2 separate regions of the Homo sapiens genome follow, and region 1 is linked to region 2. The links are contacts of gene promoters, found by promoter capture Hi-C in blood cells and fetal thymus (Javierre and others, 2016). All regions are on one chromosome and are shown on one strand. Each heading gives the region's core, a stretch centred on a gene start or on the middle of the fragment in contact. The rest is flanking DNA. Distances are from core to core; before and after follow the strand shown.

Region 1 (6,796 bases), core at 1,859-4,358, about 16 Mb after region 2:
TTTCTCCTATAATGTCTTTCATATTTACCAGTATCTAGCACTATGATGGTTCAGTACACACTGGAATGAGTGAATGAAGAAATGAATGAACAAATGATTGGATCCCAGGTTGGTAAAGAAAACCTCTCAGCACACACAAAAAGGGTGGAGGATGGAGGCGGGGAGGAGATGTAAGAATAAATGGAAAATAAAACAAACAATCGTTGTATTACCACTTCCTCTGGGGCTGGGTCATGGTTTTTAACGGTGTGCAGCGGGCACATCCAGTGTGGTACAGGCACATCCACAAAGAGAAACAAAGAGCTATTTATTTACTTCCTTTGAGGGGTAAATAAAGATCAGGTCAAAACAGGCTCCCCCCAACCGCCAGGGGGTCTTCCCCAGGTGTTGATGCAGCACTTGGCCTGGAGCAGTCACAGGTGGCCTCTGCTTGTGTGTCATCCCGCCTTCCTTTACACATGCGTGGGTCTGGCTCGCAAGGGAGGCCCCATGTGCAGTGGGGAAGTAGCGTAAGGGGAAAGGTGGCAGGGCAGGGCTTCCTCACCCCTCCGCCAGTGCAGCCAGGGCAGCAACATTTATACCACCAGGAGAGAGATGGGAGAGTCAACAAGTGGGATGGCGCTGGCCTAAGAGCTGGCTCGGGGTGCTGGAGGCCCCATGCTGGGCCAGGCAGTAGATATGCAGATGGCTGCATCTTGTGGGGATAGGACTAAGAGGGGGACCATGTACGGGTACAGCCAATCCCCATTATTCATGGAGTCTGTATTTGTGAATTTGCCTCCTTGCTAAAATTTGTGACCCCGAAATCAATACTTGAGGTGCTTTGTCATCTTTCACAGACATGCGCAAAGCCATGAAAAATTTGAGTCACCCAACATGCATGTTCCTGGCTGAGGTGGGACAGGGCAGTGCTCTGCCTGTTTCAGCTCTCGTAATGTAAACAAGTGTCCTTGTCACAGTCTACTTAGTGCCACCTTTTCTGCATTGCTGGGTTTTTTGTTGATTTCGCTGTTTGAAATGGCCCCCGAGCCTAGGGCTGACGTGCTGGCGAATGTTTCTAAGTACAAGATGACTGTATGCGCCTTACAGAGAAAATACATTAGATCAGGTTTGTTTGGGCATGAAGTATCGTGCTGTGGGGCATGAGTTCAATGTTAATGAGTTAACTATATATTCAATAAGGTGTCTTCAAACAGAAACACACAGAAAACAAAGTTATGTATTGATTAGTTGATGAAAGTCTTGTGACCAGTGGCTCACAGAAACCTAACCCTGTATTTCCCCTAGGAGCAATGGGCCAGTGTTCACCAGTTTGGTGTTCGTGGTGACTGTACAGAATATAACTGGTGAGAATAGCGAGAACTGGTAGTATTTAAATATTATAATAACTAGGGTAGCCGTATCCTTTGGGTACCTGTGAATGCCAGTCTGTATCTACTCATCCATCCGCCATCTATCATCTATTAAACACTAAGTACAAAATCCAACACTAAAAGCAAAAAATACAGGATGCAAGCAGGGTCCTGACCCTGTCACTGACCATCTTAACTGTACAATGGGGGAATCTGTACGTTAAGACTGACTCTGAAGGTTTTATTATTTTATTTGGCTTAGATATCCCTAGGTTGATATACTAGCATTGGGGCCTAAAAGTTTTGCCAGTGTTTACATCAGGCAAACACCTGTGTCACAATAACAGCCTAATACATACACTTATTAGGGCCAGGCACTGTTCTGAGTGCTGTACGTGCATAAAGCCTCCTAACAACTCATGTAATCCTCCTAATAGCCCTGTAAGGTGGATACTATTATTATCTCCAACTTACAGATAAGGGCACTGAGGCACAGAGAGGTTAAGAATGCACCCCATGGCTGGGTGCGGTGGCTCACACCTGTAATCCCAGCACTTTGGGAGGCCGAGGCAGGTGGATCACGAGGTCAGGAGATGGAGACCATCCTGGCTAACATGGTGAAATCCCGTCCCTACTAAATATACAAAAAATTAGCCAGGCATGTTGGCGGGCACCTGTAGTCTCAGCTACTTGGGAGGCTAAGGCAGGAGAATGGCATGAACCCAGGAGGCGGAGCTTGTAGTGAGCGGAGATCACGCCACTGCATTGCAGCCTGGGTGACAGAGCAAGACTCAGTCTCAAAAAAAAAAAATAATAATAATTCACCCTGATAACACAGCTGGTGTGTGGAAGAGGCAGAGGGGTTTATGCGCCTCCAGTGACATGGAAGGAGAACCTGCATCTTGTGAGGATCTCAGTCCACCCTCAGTGATGAGGAGGGTCCCTCTCCTTAGCCATGCCACTGGCACTGTTCAGTAGCAGGAAAGCATGAAGTGACATTGCGAGGCTGGGGCCACTCAGAAGTCCAGGCAAGCAGGGCAGGCATGGTGGCTCACGCTTGTAATTCCACCATTTTGGGAGGCTGAGACAGGTGAATCACCTGAGGGTAGGAGTTTGACACCAGCCTGGCCAACATGGTGAAACCCTGTCTCTACTAAAAATACAAAATTAAGGGGCCGGGCGCAGTGGCTCATGCCTGTAATCCCAGCACTTTGGGAGGCTGAGGAGGGCAGATCACCTGAGGTCAGGAGTTCGAGACCAGCCTGACTAATAGAGAGAAACCCCGTCTCTCCTAAAAATACAAAATTAGCCCAGTGTGGTGGTGCACACCTGTAATCCTAGCTACGTGGGAGGCTGAGGCAGGAGAATCGCTCGAACCCAGGAGGTGGAGGTTGCAGTGAGACGAGATCATGCCACTGCACTCCAGCTTGGGTGACAAAGTGAGACTCCATCTCAAAAAATAAAGTCAAATAAAATAAAATAAAAAAGAAATCCAGGGAGGAAAGCAGGGCCTGCATGAGGCCATGCCTTGGGGAATAAAGTGAGAGTGACCCATGCACGCAGGCAGACAGAAGGTCTGGGATCTAACTGTGAGAGGAAACAGGGAGCCTGACAGCTCTCCGAGCAGGCCAGGGCAGGGGGACCTCTCTTCCAGCAAGGCCAAGAGGGGCCCAGGAAGCCAAGCCCCAGGGAGAAGTCTGAGAGACCAAGGCCTCACAGAGGAAGTGTCTCCACAGAGATTTCCAATTGCCACGCCACCTTCTTTCCTGGAGCAAAGAGGTGCAGTTGGTGAACTAGGGCCACGGGTAATGGGAAGAATGGGAAGGAGAGATCCCATCCAACCTGGAACACTGGAGGGACAGCTAGAGTTGGAGGAGGGGTGAGTGAAGACATCTCCCCTCAGCTCACAGAAGAAGTCACACACCTCACCAAACTGAGAAAAATCAGATTCCACGCCTGGTGTGAGAGGGAAGTGAAACCGCACCTCCAATGCTCCACTGCCCTCCCCTCCGGCACTCTGGCCCATCCTGCACCCCGGCCGCCCCACGATGGCGGGCTCAGAGGTGAGGGCCTATCAGATGCATTCATGGGCTCCCTTAGGGCCTTTTGGGCTCTGAGTCACAAGGGTGGCTCTCTCAGAGCTGTGATGGCCTGGTCTCTCCTCCCCAGGGAGGCAGAAAGGGAACCAGGGAAAACAAGGCTTATAAGCTACAGAGGTAAGGGACTGTGCCCATCTTGTTCTTTCCTTTTTCACACACACGGAACATGGTACCCGGTGTATCCATGGTAAGCACTTAATAAACAGACACTGAGCGGATGAGTGAATTAATGAGTGAGTGAATGAATGAGTCAGCACTGGACCCACAAGGCTGCCTGTCAGCCTCTAGCCACATGGAGATTCCCACCTCCAGAGAAGAGCTCTACTACGTATGTTCCCCAAACTCCCTGTCAGCTAAATGTGACCTGTGACCAACTGGTGATCAAAGGGATAAGCTATCTGTCAATTGTTAGGTCTCGTTTGAAAATAAACCTCTTTTTCCCCTATTTTTGACAAACCTTGACCTCCCTGCCTCGACCCTGCTCACATTACATTTGACCTTCTCAACGACCTCTCTAAGGGATGGAGACATGACCCTCCTCTACCTCATCAGAGAACAGCACAGACCCTCTCCCCCCGCCGCCCCCCTGCCAAGGGGAAAATATGGTGCTCCTCAATGAACCTCACCCTGATCCTACAGGGTGCTCCTGGAAGAAGGGCTCCATGATGACCTCCAAGGGGCCTCTGGTCAAGGCGAAGGAGAATCAGACCCTCCACCTTTGACCAGAGGGGAGGGAGTCCAGCGTGAGGGCATTAGCCAAGGGGGTTCTGGTCCCTCTGCTCTAGGCCCCTCACAAAAAGAAGTCCAGCTGGGAACATTTTTCTCCCAGCAGGTCCCCATAGGAAAGCCATCCTCACCCACATGACACAGGCTCCCCATACCCTTCTCATCTAGATCTCATGGCAAAGATTGCCAACTGTCCCCTAAAATCCACTTTCCCTTCTTGTACCTTTGGTACTAGAAGCTCCACTATGTATGTTCCCCAAACTCCCTGTCAGCTAAGTGTGGCATGTGATCAGCTGGTGACCAAAGGGATGTCATCTGGCAACTTTGAGGTCATGCTCTGAAAAGGAAGGGCAGTGCCTTTTCTTTCTCGTCACTTTCCTCCCTCCCCACTGGCTGGCTGACGGACCCAGCAGCCATGGTGGGATGCCATCTCCCACACGCAAGGGCACAGGAGGGGCTTGGGCCCTCAACACCACCAAGGGGTCAGATCACCCACCCGGATCTGTATGGGAGAAATTTCCATTTTGCTAAGCCACTCTTGTTGGAGTCTGTGTTACAGCAGCCTAACCTCCCCTAGTTCCTATCCCAGCCCATTCTTTGGTGCCAAGATGCTGATGGGTAAAGGCGTGAAAAAGGGGCCTTGTCCTCATCCATGTCTCCAGCCCTTCACCTCCATCAGGTCAGCTTCCCAAGTGTCTGAGTGCCTTCCAGGTGGTTAAGACACCACTAGGCCGGGCGCGGTGGCTCATGCCTGTAATCCCAGCACTTTGGGAGGCCGAGACGGGCAGATCACGAGGTCAGGGGATCGAGACCATCCTGGCTAACACGGTGAAACCCCATCTCTACTAAAAATACAAAAAAATTAGGCAGGCTTGGTGGCAGGCGCCTATAGTCCCAGCTACTCGGTAGGCTGAGGCAGGAGAATGGCGTGAACGCGGGAGGCAGAGCTTGCAGCGAGCCGAGATCGCGCCACTGCACTCCAGCCTGAGTGAGAGAGCGAGGCTCCATCTCAAAAAAAAAAAAAAAAAAGACACCCGACTCCACCCCCACCTAATGCCAAATGAGGTTGGAGGTGAATGTCTCTCTCACCATACCCAATTTATTCCTCCCTCGAACTGACCATTTCTCAATTGCGTATCTCCTTCCCTGCTCAGGAAACCACTGTACTCAGGCCAACCCAACCCATGGGGAAGGTGGTAAGGAGGGCAGAAAGTGTGTGGGCTTAACACCAGAGCCCAAATCTCCTCCTCACTGCTCACCAGCTGTGTAACCCTGGACAGATCTCTTAGCCTCTCTAAGCCTCAGTTTTTTTTGTTTGTTTGTTTGTTTGTTTTTGAGACAAGAGTTTTGCTCTTGTTGTCCAGGCTGGAGGGCAATGGCTCAATCTCAGCTCACGGCAACCTCCGCCTCCTGGGTTCAAGCAATTCTCCTGCCTCAGCCTCCCAAGTAGCTGGGATTACAGGCTCCTGCCACCACACCCGGCTAATTTTGTACTTTTAGTAGAGACGGGGTTTTTCCACGTTGGTCAGGCTGGTCTCAAACTCCCGACCTCAGGTGATCCGCCCACCTTGGCCTCCCAAAGTGCTGGGATTACAGGCGTGAGACACCACGCCCGGCCGCCCGTTATGAAATGGGGGTAAAAATTGCTTACAGGTTTGTGGAGAGAAGATTACAAACTTGTAAAGTCCCTAGCACTGTGCCTAGCATGTGGTAGGTGCTCACTAAATCGTGGCTGCTCTTACTATGATGCTAAGCATGGGAATACGGAGGACACAGCTGGAGAGGAGACCTGATGACCTCCCTGGTGGAGGGTGGCCAGGGAAGGAGTGGAAGAGAGAGCTGGGGAGAGGAAACTGTGGCCATAAAGAGGAAGAGAGAGGCAGAGCTGGAGGTGACATCAGGGGAGAGAGAGGAGTGGGTTCGGCGATGGCCATGCTGGGCGAGGTGTGGAGAGCACAGCTGTGCTATCTATCAGCTGCCTCCAGCTCAGACAATTCCTGTGCCCATCTCATTTTTGTCTGCCCATCGCCTCTGCCGGGTTGGACACCCTTACCACCACGGTCACCGTTGCCACACTGTCGGCTGCTATTTCTTGCCTCATCTTCCTTCCTGCTCATGATATGGCAGAAGGTGGCAAGGGAAGCAGCTGCCCTCCGCCAGCAGCCTCCCTGCCACTGAAGGCTGAAGCTGTCCACAGGCATGGGTAAAGAGCTCAGGCTCCAAAGACAGATGAGCTGGGTTCCGTTCCCAGCTCTAGCACTTAGGAGCGGGATGACCTCAGCAAGGGAGATGACTCAGCTAAAGCTTCAGTTTCCTTATCTGCACAGTAGGGATAACAGGGCTGTTGAGAAGAAGGAATGAGATTATGCGTGGTAAGCACCCAGCCCAGCACAATGTCTGGCACACAGCAAGTGTTCAATACACGTTCGTGTTCGCTATTTTCAAGGCCAAATAGGTTTGTGACCTGTGCAGCCACACAGGGTCCCATGCTCAGGACGGGTCCCAAACTTGGTTAATGCTCTGTCACCACCACCTTGAAACGGTTTTTTTTTTTTTTTCCTAAGAGACAGGGTCTCACTCTGTTGCCAAGACTGTAGGATTGCAGTGGCATGATCATAG
Region 2 (6,179 bases), core at 470-2,969:
TTTCATAATTTTTAAAATGCAAATATTACTTTATAAACCAAAAACTGCCTTATTAAAAGCTGGAACACAAATGAATTTAAGTAAACGATGCAATTCAAATTTAATCTTTTGTGTGTGTGATTTGTTGTTGTTGACAGTTGGTCAGGCGATTTTAGTATGGTACATCAGTTTACATTCTAGATGTAGGCCAAGAAAGAATGTTAGGTGTAAAAAATATTTATTGTAAAAAAGAATGTGAGGCAAGGTCTTTGGAATTAGTAGTTTTAATGTTGGACATTCTGTGGTTGTTCTAAAGTTAGTCTGTAAAATGTGATGTAAAAGCTATATGATAAAAAAATACAAAATATAAAAATTTTAAAGTAAATATTACTTTTGTTTGCGTACAGTATTCCCATCCCTCTAAATTTTCTTCCAGTACTCAATCCCCAACCTCCAAAACCGAAAAGCAAGATCAACAGAAAGAAAATGGTTAAAACTTGTAAATTCTAGATTTTAATAACTACAGGCAAGAAGTACTGAAAAAAAGAATGTGGCATGTCATGGTGCATAGTCCTAGAGGAGACAAAGCAATGCAACCAGATAGACTATTTACAAGCAAAGCCACACATATAAAAATTCATATATAAGGGATTAAATTATGCTTGGTCGACAGACTGACAGATTTAAAGTGGGTAGCTAGCTATGGATAAAATGAGAGCCAGTTAGATCCCTGCCTCACATTTTGCACCAGAATAAATTTCAGGTTAATGTTAACAGCCAAATGAATTTAACAGTATATATATATATATATATATATATAATATATGAGAAAACCTAGGGGACTATGTATTGAGCTGAGAAAATCTTCCTAAGCATTTTGAGGAAGACACTGGAACTCGCAAGACACAATTTTCTAATCTTTTCAAAGCTTTGCAAAAATGCCTAGTAAGCGCCAGTTAACTACTTACCAGATTTTTCCCTTACTCTTACAAAGTTGTTTAAACAAATGCTAATCATAGCAAGCTAGAGGCCTGAATGATAGTGGACTTACACAGCTTCTCTCCAAATAGCACCTTAATAAGGTCAGAAATAACCTACACTGCAAGACTGACCAAACCGTTATTTCTGTTAATCAACTTTAAGACCATAGTCTAATGCTTTCCGGGGGGGTCCTTAGAAATTTGTTCTGTTAAGACAACAAAAAATTATCACAGCTACTTTCGTTGGAATAAGTGGGTGGCTCTGAAAAGAGCCTTTGGGTTTTAAGACTGATGAAAAAGTGACTTTACATTTACGCTCTTTCTCCGCGAATGCGGCGAGCGAGCTGGATGTCTTTGGGCATAATAGTCACTCGCTTAGCATGGATGGCGCAAAGGTTTGTGTCCTCAAAGAGCCCTACCAAGTAGGCCTCACAAGCCTCCTGCAGCGCCATCACCGCAGAGCTCTGGAAGCGAAGATCGGTCTTGAAGTCTTGGGCGATTTCTCGCACCAGGCGCTGGAACGGCAGCTTCCGAATCAGCAACTCGGTCGACTTTTGGTAGCGGCGGATCTCGCGCAGAGCCACAGTGCCCGGGCGGTAACGGTGAGGCTTTTTCACGCCGCCGGTAGCCGGCGCGCTCTTGCGAGCAGCCTTGGTAGCCAGCTGCTTGCGTGGCGCTTTACCGCCGGTGGATTTCCGAGCTGTCTGTTTAGTACGAGCCATGGCAAAACCACAGAAAAGCTTGCCTGCAGAGACGTCTGTGGAGGAAAGGAAAGAGCTACTCTTCTTTTATAGAGTCAGACCACCAACTATTGGACCCAAGAAAATTCAAAAATCCCCGCGCCCTTCTTGGATTGGTCCATCTCTGTGCCTGGTTGCAGATTAAGAGAGGCTCCTGCCCATTACCGTAGCTACTCTGACGTCATTTTGTTAACCCCTTAGCTGCTATATCCACTGTGGACAAGTCTTGTACTGGAAAAGTTTCCTGAAGTCTTAAAATTTACAACCACACAAAGCAACGCGGAAACCTCCAATTGTTTCTAGTTAAAATATAAAAAAGAAATCAGAGAATATTGGAGACGATTAGGGAAATTTGCATATGCGCTTTATTTAAAATTGTATTTTTCTGGGTGTCGCATAAGAAGTGTGGGCAATTAGAAAAATGCTCTTAGCCGGGCGTGGCGGCTCTCGCCTGTAATCCCAGCTACTCAGAAGGCTGTCAAGAGGATCGCTTGAGCCCGAGTTCGAGGTTACAGTGAGCTGTTATCACGCCGCTGCACTGCAGCTTGGGCGAGAGGGAGACTCCACCCCAAAACAAAGCAAAACATCCCCAAACTGGAAAAAAGCTCATTTTGGGAAATACATACTCAAATGTTCAGTGGTAATGTGTGTGCTCTCAATTGTGTATGCCATTAATTGCTACAGCAAATGGTATGACATATTCAAACTTGTGTGGGGCATGCGGGTTTTAACACTTCCATTCAAGATAGTTAGGAATGCACTCATGGGTATAATTTCCTTCCTCTAAAATGTAGTAACTGCTGTGTGTGAAACTTAACGCGAATCACCCCTGTAAACATGTTTTGTGCTGCATGGCACTTCTCCCACATACCTAGAATTCCTGAGGTTTCTATGGATCTAATTTCTGCAGGACAAATTACTAAAAGTGCCACACTCAAAGCCATTAAAAACACCTCAAAAACATCTTTATGGGCGGCATAATCCAAAGCACAACAGCTCATTTAATGGAAGTCGTAGGTGGCTCTGAAAAGAGCCTTTGCTGTTAGGCTGATTTTGTCTGCTGACAGAAAAACAGCAGTGCATGAAGCGTTAACTCTTCACTTTCCCTTGGCCTTATGATGGCTCTCAGTTTTCTTAGGCAGCAGCACCGCCTGAATATTAGGCAAAACGCCACCCTGCGCGATGGTCACACGCCCCAAGAGTTTATTAAGCTCCTCGTCATTGCGGATGGCCAATTGCAGGTGGCGCGGGATGATGCGGGTCTTCTTGTTGTCGCGGGCCGCATTGCCCGCCAGCTCCAGGATCTCGGCGGTCAGGTACTCAAGCACCGCCGCGAGATACACCGGCGCGCCAGCCCCGACGCGCTCGGAGTAGTTGCCTTTGCGGAGCAGGCGGTGCACTCGGCCCACAGGAAACTGCAAACCTGCACGAGAAGACCGAGTCTTAGCCTTGGCGCGAGCTTTACCGCCTTGTTTGCCGCGACCAGACATAACTACTTCTGATAAGGGAAAATCGCCACAAGAAAATGTAATGAAACTACATTAGAACGCAAGGCAGAGAAGTATTTATACTGACTGGAGGTAGGCTGTGAGGAATTCTCCCATTGGCTAATGTCAAATACCCAATGGGAAATCAGAATCTGCATCCTTCATTTGCATGTAATCCTTCCGTCTGGTGTAAGGTTTATGTTTGACCCAATCCCCAGTCTGGCTTGACGAGCCTTCGACTTGAATACTAATAATAATTGGCCGAATTAGGATTTTGTCAAAATACCTTTTTTAAGCATGAGTGGAGGTTTTGTTCTGGTTATTTTGACTTTCAGCCGCTCGTGCTTTTCCCGGATTGTGACTCATGTTTTTGGAAAGGAGTGGACTCCGACCAATTTCTAAATAGATATTTAAGAGGTCCTTCAAATCGGGCGCAGTGGCTCATGCCCGTAATACCAGCACTTTGGGAGGCCGAGGACGGCGGGTCAGGCGTTCGAGACCAGCGTGGACAACATGGAGAAACCCTGTCTCCAGTAAAATAACCAAAAAAGAAACGGGGGAGAAAAAGAAAAAAAAAAGCCGGGCTTGGTAGTGCACGCCTGTAGTTCCAGTTACTCGAGAAGCTGAGGTGGGAGGATCGCTTGAACCCGAGAGGAGGAGGTTGCAGTGAGTTCACATAGAGCCACCACACTCCAGCGTGGGCGACAGAGCCAGAAGACTGTGTCTCAAAGACAAAAAAAGGGGAGGGGGAGTGGGAGGGAAGAAAAGCGAATACCCCAAATCCCAGTGAACTGTAGAAGCTTATAAGCTCTCTTGATTCATAAGGGAGAAAGAAGGGGGATGTAGGCAACTTAGGGGAGAGTATATGATTTTGGAGAAAAATAAATGGGTGTTTCAAAGAATAGGTGACAGCTGTGACAAAGTCTGTTTAGATGGTGTTAACCACCAGTCTCCTCTCCTGTGATACAGTTAATCTTCTCTGGTTGATGAGATTCCCCAGGGAAGTGAATCTTAACAACTAAATTCCTTTTTGAATTTTTTTTTAATTTTCAAATTTTTGATTAGAGTTCAGCGAAAGCCCTTCCTTGAATTTACTGTTTCCTAGGTGCCCTCAGTTCAAAGAAATCAGCGTAACAAAGTGGCACATTTTTGAGTTGCATTTCCTGAACTTTTTCACAACACTGAATGAGGAGTCTCTGGAATCTTTCAGGAAATGAGAGAACAAACATTCCATAACACAGAAATACTCAAAATGGGATTATGATTATAAAAGTGTTTCACTGACCACCTTCTGCCTTCCTGTCTGTAAGTCCCATTCTCCCCAAAGTCTAGCCATAGAAACCAGAATTCCTCCTCAAGGTAGGCCATACAAACCAGAACTCCTTTTCCCTAGAACCAGCCATAAAACCTAAAAGTATTACTCTAACCTACCTTGTTTGCCTGTAGGTCATAAGACCCCCCATTCTAAAAGAGAGTCTTGTCCTATAACCAGAAGGAAGAAATGCTGCACTGAGAGGTCAAGAAGAATCTTGACAGACAAGCCTTGCGGGGCTTCCCCACTCAGTCTGTTAGCATTAGATCGTACCCTATACAGCTGTTTATCTTGTTGAACCTAAGCATAAAAATGGGCAATTTCCCCTGTATCTTTCAGTCTTAATTCTAAAATCTCCTGTAAAATTGTGATGAAATAAATATATATGCCTTTTCTCCAGTTAATCTGTGTTTTGCCAGTAATTTTCCATAAACCTTGGGAGGGCAAAGGGGAAGTTTTTCCTTGGCCGGGACAATATTATTACAGCCATTGTCTGGCTCTCCTGTTGAGGAACCTAAAATCAAGACAGATTGCCTAGGGAAATCTTGGTGTTTTTCCTTTTATATTCCATGAGATAGGAGCAGATGGAGTACAGATGAACGTGGATTAATTATTCCAGGAATTTCTGAGGTATCTACTACTTCTATCTGTGGTCTGCTTATACTGAAACAGGATGACAGAAGGAAAAAGAAACATGAGTGTAAAAAAATCTGCTCCTGGCTGGGCACGGTGGCTGATGCCTGTAATCCCAACACTTTGGGAGGCCAAGGCGGGCAGATCACTTGAGAACAGGAGTTCGTAACCAGCCTGGCCAACATGGTGAAACCCCAGTCTTCACTAAAAATACAAAAAATTAGCTGGGCGTGGTTGTGGGAGCCTGTAATCCCAGCTACTCCATAGGCTGAAGCAGGAGAATCGCTTGAACCCTGGAGACAGAGGTTGCAGTGAGCCGAGATCGTGCCACTGCACTCCAGCCTGGGCAAGAGCGAAACTCCATTTCAAAAAAAAAAAAAAAAAAAATCTGCTTCTAAGCCAACGCTGTCACAGAACTATGGATTTGATTCAGAGAAACTGTCAGGAGACTAAAAGTGCTCATTTTTAGTTTGTTTTTTGCCTTCTCCCAAGTCTTCTGACTCTAGTGTTATCTTTCCCTTCACAATATTCAACTTCCCTTTTCAAAATTATAATGATCTTCACCCTCAACAATAGCCGTAAACATCAGTAATCACTGGCTCATTTTCTTTGAAAAGGTACAAGATTCATGATGGAGATGTTAAAAAGTTATCTCAGATAGTGCCCTGAAGAGATTATACTCAGAGAAGGGAGGACTTACGTACATGAAGATTAAATAGCAGTGCACGTTCTGCATATAAAATAAAGATTTTGAGCAATAAATCATACAAAAGCACATGGAAAAGAAGATTGATCAATGTAAATTAGAAGGATTTAGAGAGTTCATGAGGGAGATGTATATCCAGCATTATTAGTTCAGCATATATTTACTGAAAACCTGCTAAGTGCCAGAGAGTGTTCTAGGTGCAGGGAGCATAGCAGTGAAAAAGCAGACAACCTGTTTCCTTACGGTGCTACTTGTCTTGTAGTGGGAGGTGCACAATAAGGTAAATACATAATGAAAATGTAGAGATAAGTGATGAGTGCTGTGGAGAAAAATAAAGAAAGG

Evidence for each region. The method cuts DNA at HindIII sites, captures the fragments that hold promoters and counts their contacts. A CHiCAGO score of 5 or more calls a contact.
Region 1: a fragment that was not itself captured here is called in contact with the fragment with the promoter of H3C2 in region 2 in 1 of 17 cell types (erythroblasts); the score reaches 5.9 in erythroblasts.

Annotation. Positions count from the first base shown.
Region 1 is chr6:42,022,252-42,029,047 of GRCh38, forward strand. It overlaps a transcript of CCND3 not described here. Among named protein-coding and RNA genes, the nearest start is that of TAF8, 25 kb to the right of the region's middle. RefSeq lists enhancers at 5,954-6,013, 6,254-6,313, 6,300-6,594, 6,340-6,634, 6,374-6,423. The HindIII fragment of the contact is 6,741 bases long and covers 1-6,479 here.
Region 2 is chr6:26,030,380-26,036,558 of GRCh38, forward strand. It overlaps H3C2 (H3 clustered histone 2), which reads right to left and starts at 1,720. Exons shown (of 1, transcript NM_003537.4): 1 at 1,210-1,720. The coding sequence starts at 1,681. The coding sequence ends at 1,271. H2AC4 (H2A clustered histone 4) reads right to left here and starts at 3,239. Exons shown (of 1, transcript NM_003513.3): 1 at 2,713-3,239. The coding sequence starts at 3,189. The coding sequence ends at 2,797. RefSeq lists enhancers at 1,357-1,586, 1,627-1,746, 2,684-3,313, 3,617-3,676, 3,717-3,766 and 1 more and a silencer at 3,097-3,196. The HindIII fragment of the contact is 2,287 bases long and covers 1,698-3,984 here.